3 separate regions of the Homo sapiens genome follow, and all the other regions are linked to region 1. The links are contacts of gene promoters, found by promoter capture Hi-C in blood cells and fetal thymus (Javierre and others, 2016). All regions are on one chromosome and are shown on one strand. Each heading gives the region's core, a stretch centred on a gene start or on the middle of the fragment in contact. The rest is flanking DNA. Distances are from core to core; before and after follow the strand shown. Region 1 holds the start of LSM6 (LSM6 homolog, U6 small nuclear RNA and mRNA degradation associated). Region 2 overlaps LOC105377476 (a long non-coding RNA gene). Region 3 overlaps TTC29 (tetratricopeptide repeat domain 29).

What was found. The method cuts DNA at HindIII sites, captures the fragments that hold promoters and counts their contacts. A CHiCAGO score of 5 or more calls a contact.
Region 2: a contact is called between a fragment that was not itself captured here and the fragment with the promoter of LSM6 in region 1, in 1 of 17 cell types (total CD4 T cells). The highest score is 5.3, in total CD4 T cells.
Region 3: a fragment that was not itself captured here is called in contact with the fragment with the promoter of LSM6 in region 1 in 1 of 17 cell types (M2 macrophages); the score reaches 6.3 in M2 macrophages.

What each region holds. Positions count from the first base shown.
Region 1 is chr4:146,173,393-146,178,326 of GRCh38, forward strand. It overlaps LSM6 (LSM6 homolog, U6 small nuclear RNA and mRNA degradation associated), which reads left to right and starts at 2,326. Exons shown (of 4, transcript NM_007080.3): 1 at 2,326-2,419. RefSeq lists a silencer at 2,476-2,535. The HindIII fragment of the contact is 3,935 bases long and covers 930-4,864 here.
Region 2 is chr4:147,086,916-147,091,849 of GRCh38, forward strand. All of the region lies in intron 2 of LOC105377476 (a long non-coding RNA gene), which reads left to right. Among named protein-coding and RNA genes, the nearest start is that of TTC29, 140 kb to the left of the region's middle. The HindIII fragment of the contact is 179 bases long and covers 2,182-2,360 here.
Region 3 is chr4:146,916,161-146,921,094 of GRCh38, forward strand. All of the region lies in intron 4 of TTC29 (tetratricopeptide repeat domain 29), which reads right to left. Among named protein-coding and RNA genes, the nearest start is that of TTC29-AS1, 15 kb to the right of the region's middle. The HindIII fragment of the contact is 5,699 bases long and covers 1-4,934 here.

The DNA of each region.
Region 1 (4,934 bases), core at 1,076-3,575:
TGCAAAATGGTACAGCCACATTGTAAGACAGTTTGGCAGTTTCTTACAAAACTAAACATACCCTTGCTATATGATCTAGCAGTCATACTCCTTGATATTTGCCCAAATAAGCTGAAAACTTATTTCTATACAAAAACCTGCATACACATATTCATAGCAGCTTTATTCATAACTTCCCAAACTTGGAAGCAACCAAGATGTCCTTCTGTAGGTAAATGGATAAATAAACTGTGGTACATCCAAATAATGGAATATTATTCAGAACTTAAAAGAAATGAGTTGTCAAGCCATGAAAAGGCGCAGAGGGGTCTTAAATGCATATTTCTAAGTGAAAGAAGCCAGTCTGAACAGGCTACACAGTGGGGTGGTGCAGTGTATGCACCACTAACTGTGTACGGTATGATTCCAAATATATGATATTGTGGAAAAAGGCAAAACTTTGGAGACAGAAAAAAGATCAGCGGTTGCCAGTGGGGAGGAAGGGATAAATAGGTGGAGCACAGAGAATTTTTAGGGCAGTGAAACTATTCTGTATGATACTGTAATTGTGGGTACATTTCATTATGCATTTGTCAAAACCTATAGAATGTGCAACACCAAGAGTGAACCCTAATGTAAACTTTGGCCTTTGGATGATAATGATGTGTCAGTGTAGGTTCATCAGTCCTAACAACTAAATGAAACTAAACTACATAAGTTAAACTAAAGCTTGCCAAAATATTTTTATGACTTTAAGGCTCCTTAATAAATTAATGTTTACATTCAGGGTTTTGAAGACTAGTATTCACCAAAAGTCTTGCAGTGTTTTCTTTGCATCATAAAAGATGCTGAAAGCAAAAACCTGGGAAATACGGAAAATTGCCTTGTGAGTTAGTAAAAGTCATTTATAAGCTGCTGAGGGGCTTTTGGGAACAGCCACACTTTTTATAAGCTTGTTAGCTCATGAATTAATTCAGGATGCCCACCCCGTGTGTCAAACTGGGCCCTTACCCAGCTACTCCCCTTAGAGAAGGTTGCAGCTGCTCAGCAGATGAACTAGGCCCTTAAAACTCCTCATGGCTCCCTACCCACCACACTAGTGTTAACGGCTCGATTAGGGCTCTGTAGGAAAGGGAAAGAAGTTTGAATCAAAAATTTTCTTTTTTTTTTTAATAATTTAAACAATCAGTAAGGAATGTGCAATTTGATGTCGTTTGCAAAGAAAGTTTTTAGGAACAGGGCTTTTTATCCTATTATGTTTGTTCTTTGCACGTAATTATTTGATTTAAATGGTACTTTTCTTAAAATTTTTATTTACATTGTATTTTATATTGCAAGAACTTCAAATACAGCCCTCACAATAAATCAGTAACTGTTCGGTCTTTATCCAAACTGAACTTTTATAGAAGGATATAAGGAAGTCTCTATTCTTTAACAAATCATATCCAGTTGTTTTCTGTCCCTGATATCAATCAAAAGTTCATTTCTTCTGCCTTTAACCAAAAGAAGTTTACAAGGGAGGAACTCTTTATCTTCGAAAAAAATTTTGCATCTTAGATTTTATAACACCTAATGGGGTTAAGGATCTGTGTTGAAAGATCTTATCACTCTGTGTATAGTGTTACAAATCATAAATATAATTAAAGTATAAGTTTTCAACTGATGAGAGTATATGTGGAGGGGGAAAAACGAATCAAGTCCTGGTGTAACAGTTCTCTTCTTTTTCCCTTTCAATTCCATTAATAGAAAGAGTATTGAGAATTCATGCAAAATTCCAAACCAAGTTCCCATAGTAGCACTGAAATAAGTCTGCACACCATTTCCAATAGGAACTAGTAATGTAACACAATTAATGTCATTATAATTTGGAGTTACTTGAGTGATTTTGATTATTTTTGTATCAATTAACATTGCCATGGAAACAGTCTCTTGCTAAAATGGCTTAAGTCTTCACACATTTAATCAATATCCAGAGGTAGATTTAAAGACTTGAGGTGTTTCATTTATTTATTTATTTGCTTTAAACTATTCAAGGACGTTTCTGGGTACACAATGCCGTTACTTAAACAGTAAATTCCAGTTTCCTATGACTTCAAGTTATTTTTTACACTTCTGTAAATAAATCCTGCCCAAAAGATCACTTCTAGTTTCCTGGAATTTTGTTTTTGTTTTGTATTGTATTTGTTTTGTACTCAGATTTCTGTTAGAGGAACTCCACTGCACCAATTTTGCTACTAGACAAACCAGGAATCTTGGATTTGCGCGCTTTGGTGCTGACAGGCTTTTTCGGCCCCAGCGGGCTGCCGTAGCAGAGAAGAGCACTGATTGGCTGAGGCAGAAAAGTGCCCCTGCCTCGGCGCTTTCGGTTTTGGCTGGGATCATCCGCGGCGGCCGGGCTCGTGGGGCGCCTGGAGTGAGGGTTCTGGTTCCCGCCGGCGAGGTGAGCCGCACCGCTGCGCGGGCCGACGACGGGGCCGGGCGCAGCCCCAGGTTCGGTGCCCCAGTGTTCAGTCGCGCTGTGGAGCGGCGGCTGCAGCGGCCCTAGGCCGGGCGAGGCAGCCCCGGAAAGGGCCTGCGGTGAACAGGCTGGGGCTCCGGGAAGGGACCGCTGGGTGGCGGGTCCCCGCGAAATGCCGCGTCCAAGCTCTCCGCGCATGGAATGGCTGGGAGAGGTCTGATGGTGGGCGCCGGGACCGCCCTCAGCGAGGCGCCTAGACTGCGCGGAGAGGAGCGGCACCGTCCCGGCTCCTACCGAGTTGGCGTCCGAGATCAATTCAGGTTGTTGAAGTTCCCCAGGGAGCCCCGACGCTAATCCCAAGATTCGGCGGGAAAGCGGATCCCGAACCCAGGCCTAGGCTTCGCCTGTCTTCCAGGAGGGCTTCAGGGAATTGCGAACCCTCTCCTACATCGGGGTGGCTGCGCCTGACCACAGGAATTAAAGGCTGGACTCGCCTGTCTTACCAAGTTGTCAGGTCGAGGAACCCGATTGTATGGTCTTAAGTCCTATCGCCCAAGGTTTTCTGTGCGTATGCGTGTCCGCACACCTGCATAGCAGGCATTTTTAAGGTGTGTAGGATTAAGATGATGCGGATTACCCTGCCCCACTGCTCTTAGTAATACGTGACTATTGTAGAAAATTGCAAACATAGAAGACTTTAGTGAAGAAAATAATATTCACTGAACCCTTTCACCTACGATCATTTTCTCTTGTATGTGCTAGCTTCTACTTGAACTAAGAGTGTACATGTTTAATCACTTAACAGTGTAGTTTTCCACTTCCATTTAAAAACTCTTCCTAAATATTATTCTAATTTTGTATCTTCTTTTGATTGTCCTATCATTGTGGGTCCCAGTTTAGGTCCCGTAAATTATTCAGTCATTTCCCGATTGTGGGACATTAGATTGTTTTTGAATTTTTACATCATCTTAGCATCCCAGATAGTGCTTTGATAAACTCTTTTCCCCCTATTTTTTAGATTATTTCCTTGGACTAGATTCTCAGAAGTGAAATTATCAGATTAGATGCTGTCATCTGAAAGGTCTGTTTTAGGCCTTCATACACATTGCTGCAGTGTTTTCCAAAAAAGTTTTAGAGATGTTTGGTAATTTTACTTGCTTAAATATTGTGCAGAAATCTTGAGAGGCTTGTGTTTGTGGTGTGTGTGTGTGTGTGTGTGTCACTGGCGTTAATGCGTTAGACTACCTGAATGTTAGGGCAGGAAGAGACTTAAGTGGTCATCTGGCATAACTCCCTTATATTGCAGATGAGGAACCTGGGGCCATGAGAAGTGAAATTATGAGTTATCCAAGTCACACAGCTAATTAAGTAGCAGAGCTGGGATTAGAACTCAGGTTTCCTGCCTCCCAAGTGAGTACTCTGTGCTGTATCAGGCAGTCTCTCACTGAACTGTGGCATAGTAGATACTAGAATTTAAAAATTTGTTTACATCACCTGGGTTATTCTCTCCTTTTAAAAGTGTACTAACAGATTTTAATCATCGGAGAGACCTGTAACACTGAAAAATTGGAAAGTGATCATTTTCATGGCCAAGACTAGAAATCCATTATTTAGAATGGCAACCCCTTCAAGATTTTGACAGTTGTTTTCAGGTTCCCTATATGTTAGAATAAAACACCCCTGATTAATTATAACCTACACTCCATCATTTGGTTAGAATGTAGCTTTTGGTTATCATTTGCGGTACCTTGGAGATTTCTTTAAAACTCCTCACTTTAAAACCAAAGAACAATTTTTTTTATTTTTATTTATTTTTATTTATTTTTTTATTTAGGGCTTATAGCAGAGATTGTCAACTTCCATTGACATTTTGTGCTGGGCAGTCCTTTGTTGTGGAGGGCCGTCCTGTTAGTTGTAAAATGTTTAGCAACATCCCTGGTCTCTACCCACTAGGATAGCAGTAGCACCACCTTCCTCAGTCATGACAGTTCAGTGTCCCCAGATATTTCCAAGTGTCCCTGAGCAGGGTGGGGCAGGGTTGGGGGTACTGCCCCTAGATGAGAACCATTTGCTTATAGAAATTATCTGGAGAACTTTATAAAATGTAAAATACAGTGCCTTTACCTGAGTAGACTTCGGGAAAATCTGCATTTTAACAAGCATCTCTAGATTTGGAAACAGCTGGTTCTTGAATGACACAAACAGTTGTTTTCTCAGTTTTTGGTGCTCATAATAGAGATTACTTGGTTAGTATTTGTTGAAGTACATGCATGATCCTACTGGTCACTGTATCCATAGTTTGGGCTGATGGGGGCTGGACAGGGATTTTGCTTGGCACTGGCCTTGAATGTCTCTTCCACAGACTTGGGTAGTGTGCTTAGGTACCAGGGACACCAAGTGAGTAAGATATTTTCCCTGTCCCCAAGAAGCTTTAAATTCGCACGGGAGACCAGTCAGCAAATGGAAAAATTACGAAACAGCCTGATAAGGGCCATGA
Region 2 (4,934 bases), core at 1,021-3,520, 910 kb after region 1:
ACATGCACACTGGAAACAAGAATTTCAGTAGAAAATAATTAGCTTGTTGTCTTTGCGTTCATTTAAGTTAAAGTGATGGTTACACTGAGACATTACTGATTCTTCACTTGACACATCCACTCAGTGTTTCCACTAGGATTTCAGTGATCCTAGACCCTTCCCCACTAATGAGAATGCCACCTTCACACCCAGTGTGCTTCTTCTGTTCTATCTGTGGACTCCATGCTCTTTGCAGCCACTGCCTCCTTCTCTCTAGTTGGCTGCTGGATGCTGTGGACCCGCTCAGTTGCCCCGATGAAGTATGAACTGGGTGAACACTTGCTGTATGAGTGAGTGATGCCACATGCCTCTTCTCCTTTAAGGCCCATATATGAAGGCACTGCTGGTGGAGGCAGCAGAGTGAGTCAAATCTCACAAATGACCATCACCAAATTCAACATCCCCAAATTCCTGTGCCCAGTAAATGTGATAACTTTTTCCTAAGATACAATCAAAGGGTAAATAAAATAGAATGCCATCTGTCCTGAAGAATACTTTCCCAGGGTGAGGCTTCTCTAACAGCTTCTGCATTACAGACTATCAAAAGACAGCATTCTGGAACGTTCTGAAAGTAGAGAGGGAGAGAGAGAGCAAATACTGCACAGAGGTGTCAGGATTACTAAGCACTGAAATATTTTTATTTTTATTTTTATTTATGTATTTTTTTGAGACGAAGTCTCACTCTGTTGCCCAAGTTGGAGTGCAGTGGCGTGATCTTGGCTCACTGCAACCTCTGCCTCCCGGGTTCAAGCAATTCTCCTGCCTCAGCCTCCCAAGTAGCTGGACTACAGGCACATACCACCAGGTCTGGCTAATTTTTGTATTTTTAGTAGAGACGGGGTTTTCACCATGTTGGCCAGGCTGGTCTCGAACTCCTGACTTCGTGAGCTGCCCACCTCGGCTTCCCAAAGTGCTGGGATTACAGGCGTGGGCCACCATGGCCAGCCATCTTTATTTCTCAACTATTATTCCACATCAAAGAGAAGTTCACATTTTAACAGAAGATAGACGTAACCTCTGGATGAAACTGCAAGTCTATAGTCTTTAACTGTGTTCATTACCATATTAGGTAATAATGACTATGGACATATAATTATTGATTACTGCTTTTAAAATAACCATGCTATTGAGTAGCCATGAACATAAAACTATGAGGTTATAATAGAAAATAAATTCGGCTCTGAGCATATAAAAATTTCAATTAAAAAAACATACAATAAGAGACACTGTTCCAGAATTACATGTTTTTGGTTGATCTTTCACCATTCATGTTATGCAGCCTTCCGTGCTGCAAAACCTGGCAATGATTAAGAACAACATGCAGCATCGAAATCACAATAATGGCACTGGATATTACAATACTGAAGTGAAACCGAACAGTTTTCATTTCAGATTCCATGATTTGTTAGTCCAGTCATGTGACACGGGACAAGTCACTTTATTTATATTCAGCCTTTTAGTTTATACATTGAACCTCCTGGGCTCCTGTGGGATTGAAAAATGTTGATGACAGAGGGTGTAAGTCTTTATAAACTCTGAGTTTCCAGTTCTGTTTTTAAAACATTGCTTGGATTAAATCAGCAAATTGTACTGTTATTTTGTGACTTTGGAAGGCTGAGCTCTTCATCTCTGCTTTTATTATAACGACTGTTACTAAAACTGACACTCATGACCCCATTACCCACCAGGACGATCAGGCATTCTCTTCAGGTGTGTGTTGTTTTATCACTAAACTTAGTCACTTTACTAAAGTAACTTCAGACGGGCTTTAGATTTGAGGGCAGGCTGTAAAACTAACAAGAAAAAAGGAAAATTTAAAGATATGGACACAGAGTGATGGGTTGCCTTCCTAATCATGTATTCAGAGGCTGAAAGCCCAGAGAACCTGGGCAATTGCTAACCTGCAGTATCTGGAGCAACCAGCAATCTAATGTGAAATTCCTTTCATCTTCCCTCCACACTCCTGTGAAAACCAGGAGGATTTCTGAGAGGCACAGAGATTCTCAATCGTTGCAACGAGGCAGCTTTCTTGTAGTGTGAGTTCATGAGAGGAAGGGCAATTTCATGTTAAACATACACACAAGATGACAGGGAAGGGGGCGAGCTGATAGCCCAAAATACATATGCAAACCCTCCCTTGGAAGCTTGCTTTTCACTCTCTTGTACAAAGTCAATGGAAACCAAGGAACTACCATTCCAGAATTGTCGCCTGCTTTAATCCTTAATAACCAAATAAAAATGGGCAGCCCGTATTCGGGAGCAGCTCTAGCAAGCAGACCTCTAGGAAACAAGGCTCCCTGCAGACTTTCCCTTGATCTTAAAGCTTAACTTGAAACATTTATATGCACGGAGCACCTGGCCAGGAGATGTGAGAAGGCCTTTTTTTTTTTTTCTTTTTTTCACCTTGGCTCCATTTCTTTCTTTAATAATAAATTCTCAGTTTTCTTTTTTCCCTTCTTGGAAACTGATTCCACTCTAAATAATGTTTTTTGTTCTTTCTTAATAGTTTAAGAAAAGCAAGACAAACTTGAAAACCCCCCATTAACATCCATCAGGCTCCCCGCCTGCCGATCGGTATCATCTTCACTTTAGGAAAGATGAAGCAGAAAGTCAGTGTAGGTTAATTCCAATCAGGTTGAGAACTTCTTTTGTTTGAATTCAAAGGGCTCAGGTTAACCTATTATGCAATTTAGTACCAACTGGCTGCACAAATCTTCTTTCACATACCTTGCTGGGTGAAGAAGTGATGAGTGCAGAAACTTGTTCTGACTGCACCAGTTTAAATACGCAGGTGTTTGAATTATGGTCAGAAGTTTAACAGAGGAGGAAAGCTCATATCTGTCCTACAATGGTAACACCATCTGAGTCACATCCTCAACAAGGTTATAATGCATTTAATGGTAAAAAATATACACAGAGTCTGATATAAAGACTTTCCCTCAAATCGGGTCAAAACTAGGACAGATGCTTTATAGTTATTTTGAAATAAATGTATGTAAAGAAGGGAGTACCAGCTCATGAGTATCACCAGCCTCTCTCCTCCTTTCTTTCTTCCGTCTTTCATTCCTTCTTTCCTGCACATTTTGATTTCACAAAAGAATTTAAAGCATACCTGAAGACACACACTACACAGGATATAATAAATAGCTGAAATTGGAGCAAAAAAGAAAATAGACAAGAAAACTAATGCTGAAGGAAATATTCCAAAATATATATAAATGCAAACCATTCACTCCTGTATGGTTGCTGGAAAGTGGAAGGTGGAACTTTGGCTGGATGGATGCCCTGACTCTAGTCCAGTCCCCAGCACCAATGCTCAAGAGATGCCCAATTCATCTCCTCAACTCCCACCTAGCCCTCCTCTAATCTCAGTCTCCATACCTGAGTGATACCTCTAAAAAGCAAATCAGATGAGGTCTTATCATTGCTTCAACATGTTAATGACTGCCCCCTATACATAAGATAAAGTCAGAATTCCTCAGTGTAGCTTATAATACTAGCCTGACCCGGCACCTCACTGCTGTCCACCTCTCTGGCAGTCTCAGCACCCCACCAGCTACTCTGCCCTCTGGTCACACCAGACCTCGTTCAACAATTCAAATATGTCCTTTCCTGCACAGTTTTTTCAGTGAGGCTCCTCTGCCTCTCCACCAGCTGAACTTGCACTTAAACTTCCTCCAGTTCTGGGTCATGCTCCTCAGACTGGAGTAGGTGCTCCCGAAGCATGTTCCCACCTGTCCTTCCTCGTCACAGCACCTGTCACACTTCATTATTTACTTACCAGCTTGCTTTTGCTGTTTGAGAATGCACTCTTGGAGAGTTCGAGCTGGGTCTAGGTTGCTCCTTATTTCCAGCATCTATCAGAGTGCCTGACATATCACTACTGCTTACCGATACATTATTGTTGTCACATGCATAAATCATAACAACTGACATTAATTAAACATTCACCATGGGCTAAAAAAGATGCACCATGTTTTACCTTCTTTATCTTTGTAGAAAAAAACATTTATTCTTCAAAATAAAGCCATTATCTTTCTTCATAGTAAAGCTATGAGGTACGTTATTATTATCTTCATTTTACAGATAAGGAAACTGAACCTGCAAGCTCAGACAAATGCTTCCCAACAGCCTAAGCAATAAACAGACAATGTTCAGTTACAAAATTTATAGTGGAAAAAATTCACAATTGTTGGGGAGAAACATGATTTTTCGCAGATCATAAAACTTAAAATATTAATTCCCATGAGTTATGTGAAAGCATTCGCCAATGGCCTGATTGTATGGATGGCAGCCTGCAGAATCCCTACAGTGAACAAAGTAACAGGCTTTATAAGGCCCCTTGCTAGTGTCTCTCAATACAAGCAATAGCACAACACGAAAGCACAATTCACCAGGCTCCAGCCTACACCAGGCAAAACACACAGCTCTCCTGTGGCCTGGCTTAAACCAAGGGGTTATTTAATTTTGCCAAAATCAAACCTAGCAAATATTCATGTTGTGACTTTGAGATCATTTTCCCCCTGAGAAGAGGGAGGAAAAGGAGAGTCCATAAGAAGAAAAGGCAAGGACTAGAGACTTACTCTGAAGAGAAGGGTGACACAGGTCTGCATAGGAGCTGCCTTTGCCAGCATAGTCTTCCTGACTAATTTCTGAAAAGACATGCTGACCTGGGCCTGACGCTTCCTCCGCCACCTGGAGGCTTTGGTCTCAGTAGCTCTAGGAGCCTTTCTGCTCTCATGGGCCCTGAATCTATGTCCAAGTTACAAATGGCTGCTTTTGGGGGGAGAGGGAGGGTAGTTTATTTTGTTATATTTAAAAGTGACAACCCTGCCCCCAGACCAAAGCTTTGGGTTTGTTTGGGGTTTGATCATCAAAATGGAGAGTTAGTCAAG
Region 3 (4,934 bases), core at 1,252-3,751, 740 kb after region 1:
GTAGATAGATATTATGTATATCGTAATCAGAATTTAAAAAGTCATTTCTTGACATACACCTACTAACTGATAAAAATTATATGAGTTGTTTATGTTTTATAGTTTTTGGTAAAAATGCTATTTTTTCCCAAAAGCTAAAATAACAATATAGCATTTTCCTAGCCATATAAATGTATAAAGAGAGAGAAGTTAAAAAGACAAAAAATTTGAGAGTGTTTAAAATGACTTTTTACTTTAAAGCCATATAGAATTATAATGAAAACTGAAAGCATTTTTCTTAATGCTTAGGTTGTTCACAATTATTAGTCATAGTATTGATTAGCAATGATTAAGAATTGGGCTACCAACAGCCATATATGTATTTTGTAAGAAAGATTAGTGAGTTAAGATTTTTAGAATTCTTAATTTATTTTCCATGCACTTCAAAATATAGCAAGAAAGAAGTTTCAATATAAAAAGGTCTTTAAATTTACATGATTTCCAATGAGTTGACTGGTCTCTGGGGGCATCTACTGGAAATTTAGCAAACTGCAGTTACATCATGTAAATTTGGTAACTTTCACTATCCATCCTAATACAGATATTATTTTAATTGATATGCAAATAAGTTGACAAAGAAGATAAATGTAAAGTTATGCATGGTATTCTATCTCATCCATCTGGTAACAGCAAAACATGTAGCTGTCTATGAGATCAGTTAACAAATATTCAACTGTTAAAAATGTAAATAGGGCAGGTGGCATACCATAGATTAACAGTTTTCAAAGCATCCAATTCTTATTTTTGGAAAAATTAGAAAAATATTTTATACTTAAACATTCACATATTTAATGAGAAATTTTTATTAATCCAAATAAAATATATATATAAAGCACTTTTAAATTATGATGGATTCTCTAAAACAAATCATTTTGTATCTCATACATCCACCAATCATAAATAATATGACTACTGCTTATTTTCTATATGATTTAATTTAATTATTACATGTTAACATCTCAAAAAGTAGAATTTATTATACTTGGATCAGAAGAATTTTTCATTATAGTCATTACAACTAGAATTCATCATTAAAATGAACATTGTTATTAATGTCCTCTAAACATTTCAGAACCTCCTTAAAGAATATTGAACATATAATGAACACAATACAATCATTTCAATGTATTATAATTTAACATATTTTAATTAAAAAGCTCTTTTTATAATATTATGTTATGACTAATCATATAATTTAAATATCACAGCCATTATAATGATCTTGATTTTTTTGCAGAATTTATAGACCATATTCACTTTGAGAGATTAAAAATATAATTTGAAAGTATAAATATTGTGATATGCTTATATTTTACCATTATATATTTTATATATTGCTGTAAAATTTATATAATTTATATGTAATTTTTATAAAATGCAATTAGATATTATATACATTATATATTATTTATAATATATAATTAGATATTATATAAATTATATATTATATATTTATATAAAATTATGCATTATATAAATTTTATATTATATTACTTATATTAAATTATATGATACACAATTTATATAAAATTATATATAAAAATTATATAAAATTCTCCTTGTAAAGAGTCACATAACATTTTAGCTTCATTCCAAAGAGATTGTCTAATGCAATATATTAATTTATAATTTTTCTAAAAATTTCTTAGAATTGCTATCCAAATAAATGATTTCATCTTTTATTATATGAACTGAAAAAATTAAGCAATATAAAAATATTACCAAAAAGTCAGAATATAAATATTAATATAGCATTCTGTTTCAGTTTTGATTTAGACTCAATTTAGGTAGATAGGCCAATTTAACAATTTTAAATACATAAATAAAATCTGCCCCCCAGAACATTTTATGGAATAGAATTTTTATGTGATTATCAAAACAGTTACGCGTTTACTAATTTGAACTTTAGACGAAACTGTTACATATGCAAGTTTTGCTTTGTATTTTTGGATTTTTTATCTATTAATAATAAAGAAAAGCATAGTCAGAATTTCAACATTTTAAAAGTATATATACAAATTGAAAAATGCTATTTTGAAAAAACTAACCTAAGTTCAACCTTTATTTTTTAAGAAAAAAACTAGTAATAATTAAGGAATAAAGTTTATCCTCTGGCATTTTGTAAATAGTACTATCACTAATATAACTCAACGAATAATAAAAATATCTAAAAATTTGATCAGTAAAGATTCTCTCAATAGCCTGATAAGAATTCATTTCAACATGGGTGATTATATTTTAGAAGTTATGAAATATTTGTGTAGAATGGGACAGAAATTATTTCACAGATTCTATTTTGATAGAACTGATGTTTTGCATTAAAGGCAGTCACTTTTTGTGAGATCAACAAATGTTTATAAACCAAACTATATTTTCATTGATGATTATTAACAAATATCAGAGGAAAGCATGCTTATTTAGCAAATAGTACAGGACTATAATCTTTACAATAACTTTAGATAATTTCCTTAATAACATAAAGGCATTTTTTATGTGCCCACTTGCTCAAAGTTATTTATTCAAGTGATTCCCATTTAATCAAATATTTCAAGTACAGTAATTGTTATCAACCAGGAATGGATAAACTATTCATCAGACAATAGAAAGTATTACCAAAATAGTTACCCACGGTAGCTGTCGCACAGCACTTCAGCATCATTCATTTTCTTTATCGAAAAACCTCAAACATACACATTTTTAAGACTTAAAAAAATACTGTTTGTTTTAGAAACATTTGTTGATCTCACAAAAAGTAACTGCCTTTAATGAAAACTTCTCTAGTAGTCTGGTAAAAAAGGATTGGAAGAAAAGCTCCTTATATGAGGTTAATTACATATGCAATTTTGATAAAAGTCTTATTACTTCCAAACTCCTTTGAGAAATTCAAACTTTATACAAAATAATTTGTGTAGAAAAATTTTAAGCCAAAGATTCCACATGGAAAGATATTAAATGAGTGTTAAAGGAGAATTTTTCAGGGACAGTATTTTCAAGCCAGGATTACAACACGACTCCAAACACCTTTGGCTAACTGCAGCAAATCATATGGATTCTTGTTCTTTTCTTTCAGATTACACTGTACTTCTCTACTATAGAAAAACCAGTTAAACCTAAGCTGAAAAATAAACCCTGGAAATAATCTTAGCTTTTAAATTGAGTTATAATGATACAAAATAAATTCAAATAAGTAATACAATTCTGGTGTATTATGTGTCCTAATATAACAAGAAGAAACATGAGGAAAAGAGGAGGGAAACAAAAAATGAGCTTCATATCACAGGACTACAAAGAGTGGACTAAATATACATGTAAATATCATCATACTCACTCATCAAATGATCATTTTTGTCTAAATTTGTATTTATAATTTCTATTAACAAAAAACTCCATAGAATATGATATTCACTCTGTTGTGTTCTTCTTTTTAAAACCACCCATCTTCACACTGACACTCTGTTTTTTGAAACATAATTCTATGATACCCTCCACATTTTTTGAAATTTTATTGTTTGGAAAACTTTTTCTCAAATAACATCATTTAAAATTTTCTTTTAGTTTTCTACACAGCATTATAAATAAAAGAACTATCAACTTCCCATATACATTCAGGGAAATATCAAACTTTTATTAAAAATGAAAAGCTGGAGAATATAAAGAACAAACTTAGTAAAAACAAGTTGCATTATAAAGAAAACTTCAGCTCACTGCATTTTTTTTTACTAAAGTATGTCATACATTTTATCTTTGCAAGAATTTGACAAGTTTTGCAAGTAAAATTCTGTTTCCTCTACACTTGCTAATAGTCATGAGAATCTGTAGTTTGCACCTTCCCATTAAAAATGTATTGTATTTTTTGAAATTATTCACCCCGCCTTTTATCCAGATCATGTCTTTGAAAGGAGGAAGTAGATAATAAATGGAATAATTCATGATTCCCCATTAAATATGAAACTTTCTTTTGCAGAGTTTAGAAAATGAAGTTCTACATAATGTACAAAAGTTGATTAGAACTTTTTTAACCTTTTCAAGAAAAAACCTTTCATACTAAACAACTACATGAGGAGCTTTCTCTGAGAAAGGTAAAACAATCAATTCTTTACACCTATAGGTTCGTCATATATATTCTAATGTTGCCCCCTCTAAACATATATTTCCCTATAATACTTTAAACATATTAAAAATAATGGCAAGAAAAATAGTATACATTGAGTTGTAAACATGACAAGTTTTTAAGAGAAATATAACGTTTAAAATACAAAGGGAAAAAAATCACATAAATTAAAAATGAAAACAAAACATTATTCATGCTCTTTTCAGTAATGTAATGGAAGATAGTGTAGGGGTAAATAACAAAAACTGCATGTGTATTTCTCTTACTATGGCATGTCTTCTAGTGAAGTAATGATATTTTGTCATGAGAAAAAAGTATATACACTTATAAAACTTATCTTTTACAAATCAATCATTGGTACTCCATTAACTACACTCTCTTGAGCCCCTTTTTTGATAAAATTTTTAAAAAGAAACCAAATGATTCTTAAGATGACTCCAGTTCTATATTTTTAGATATAAATATTCTATATGTCTTGGGTGAGAAATCTGTATGTCTTGGGTGAGAAATTATATATATTCTATATGTCTTGGGTGAGAAATACCTTAAGAGAAATGTCAAGTTCTGACTACTTAAGAGCAGCAGTTGATCTCATTTCTTCTTTGGGTTTTTAAGTTTCTATTATAGAAATAGTTCCTCATTTGACTCAACATATTTTGATTTTCCCCTTATCTAAAAATAAAATTAGAATACATTTCCCTATCAAACTTGAATGCTTAAAAGATAACTACCGAACTGTAAGTCATGTAAATAAATCTTTCATATTATGTGCTCTTTAATTACC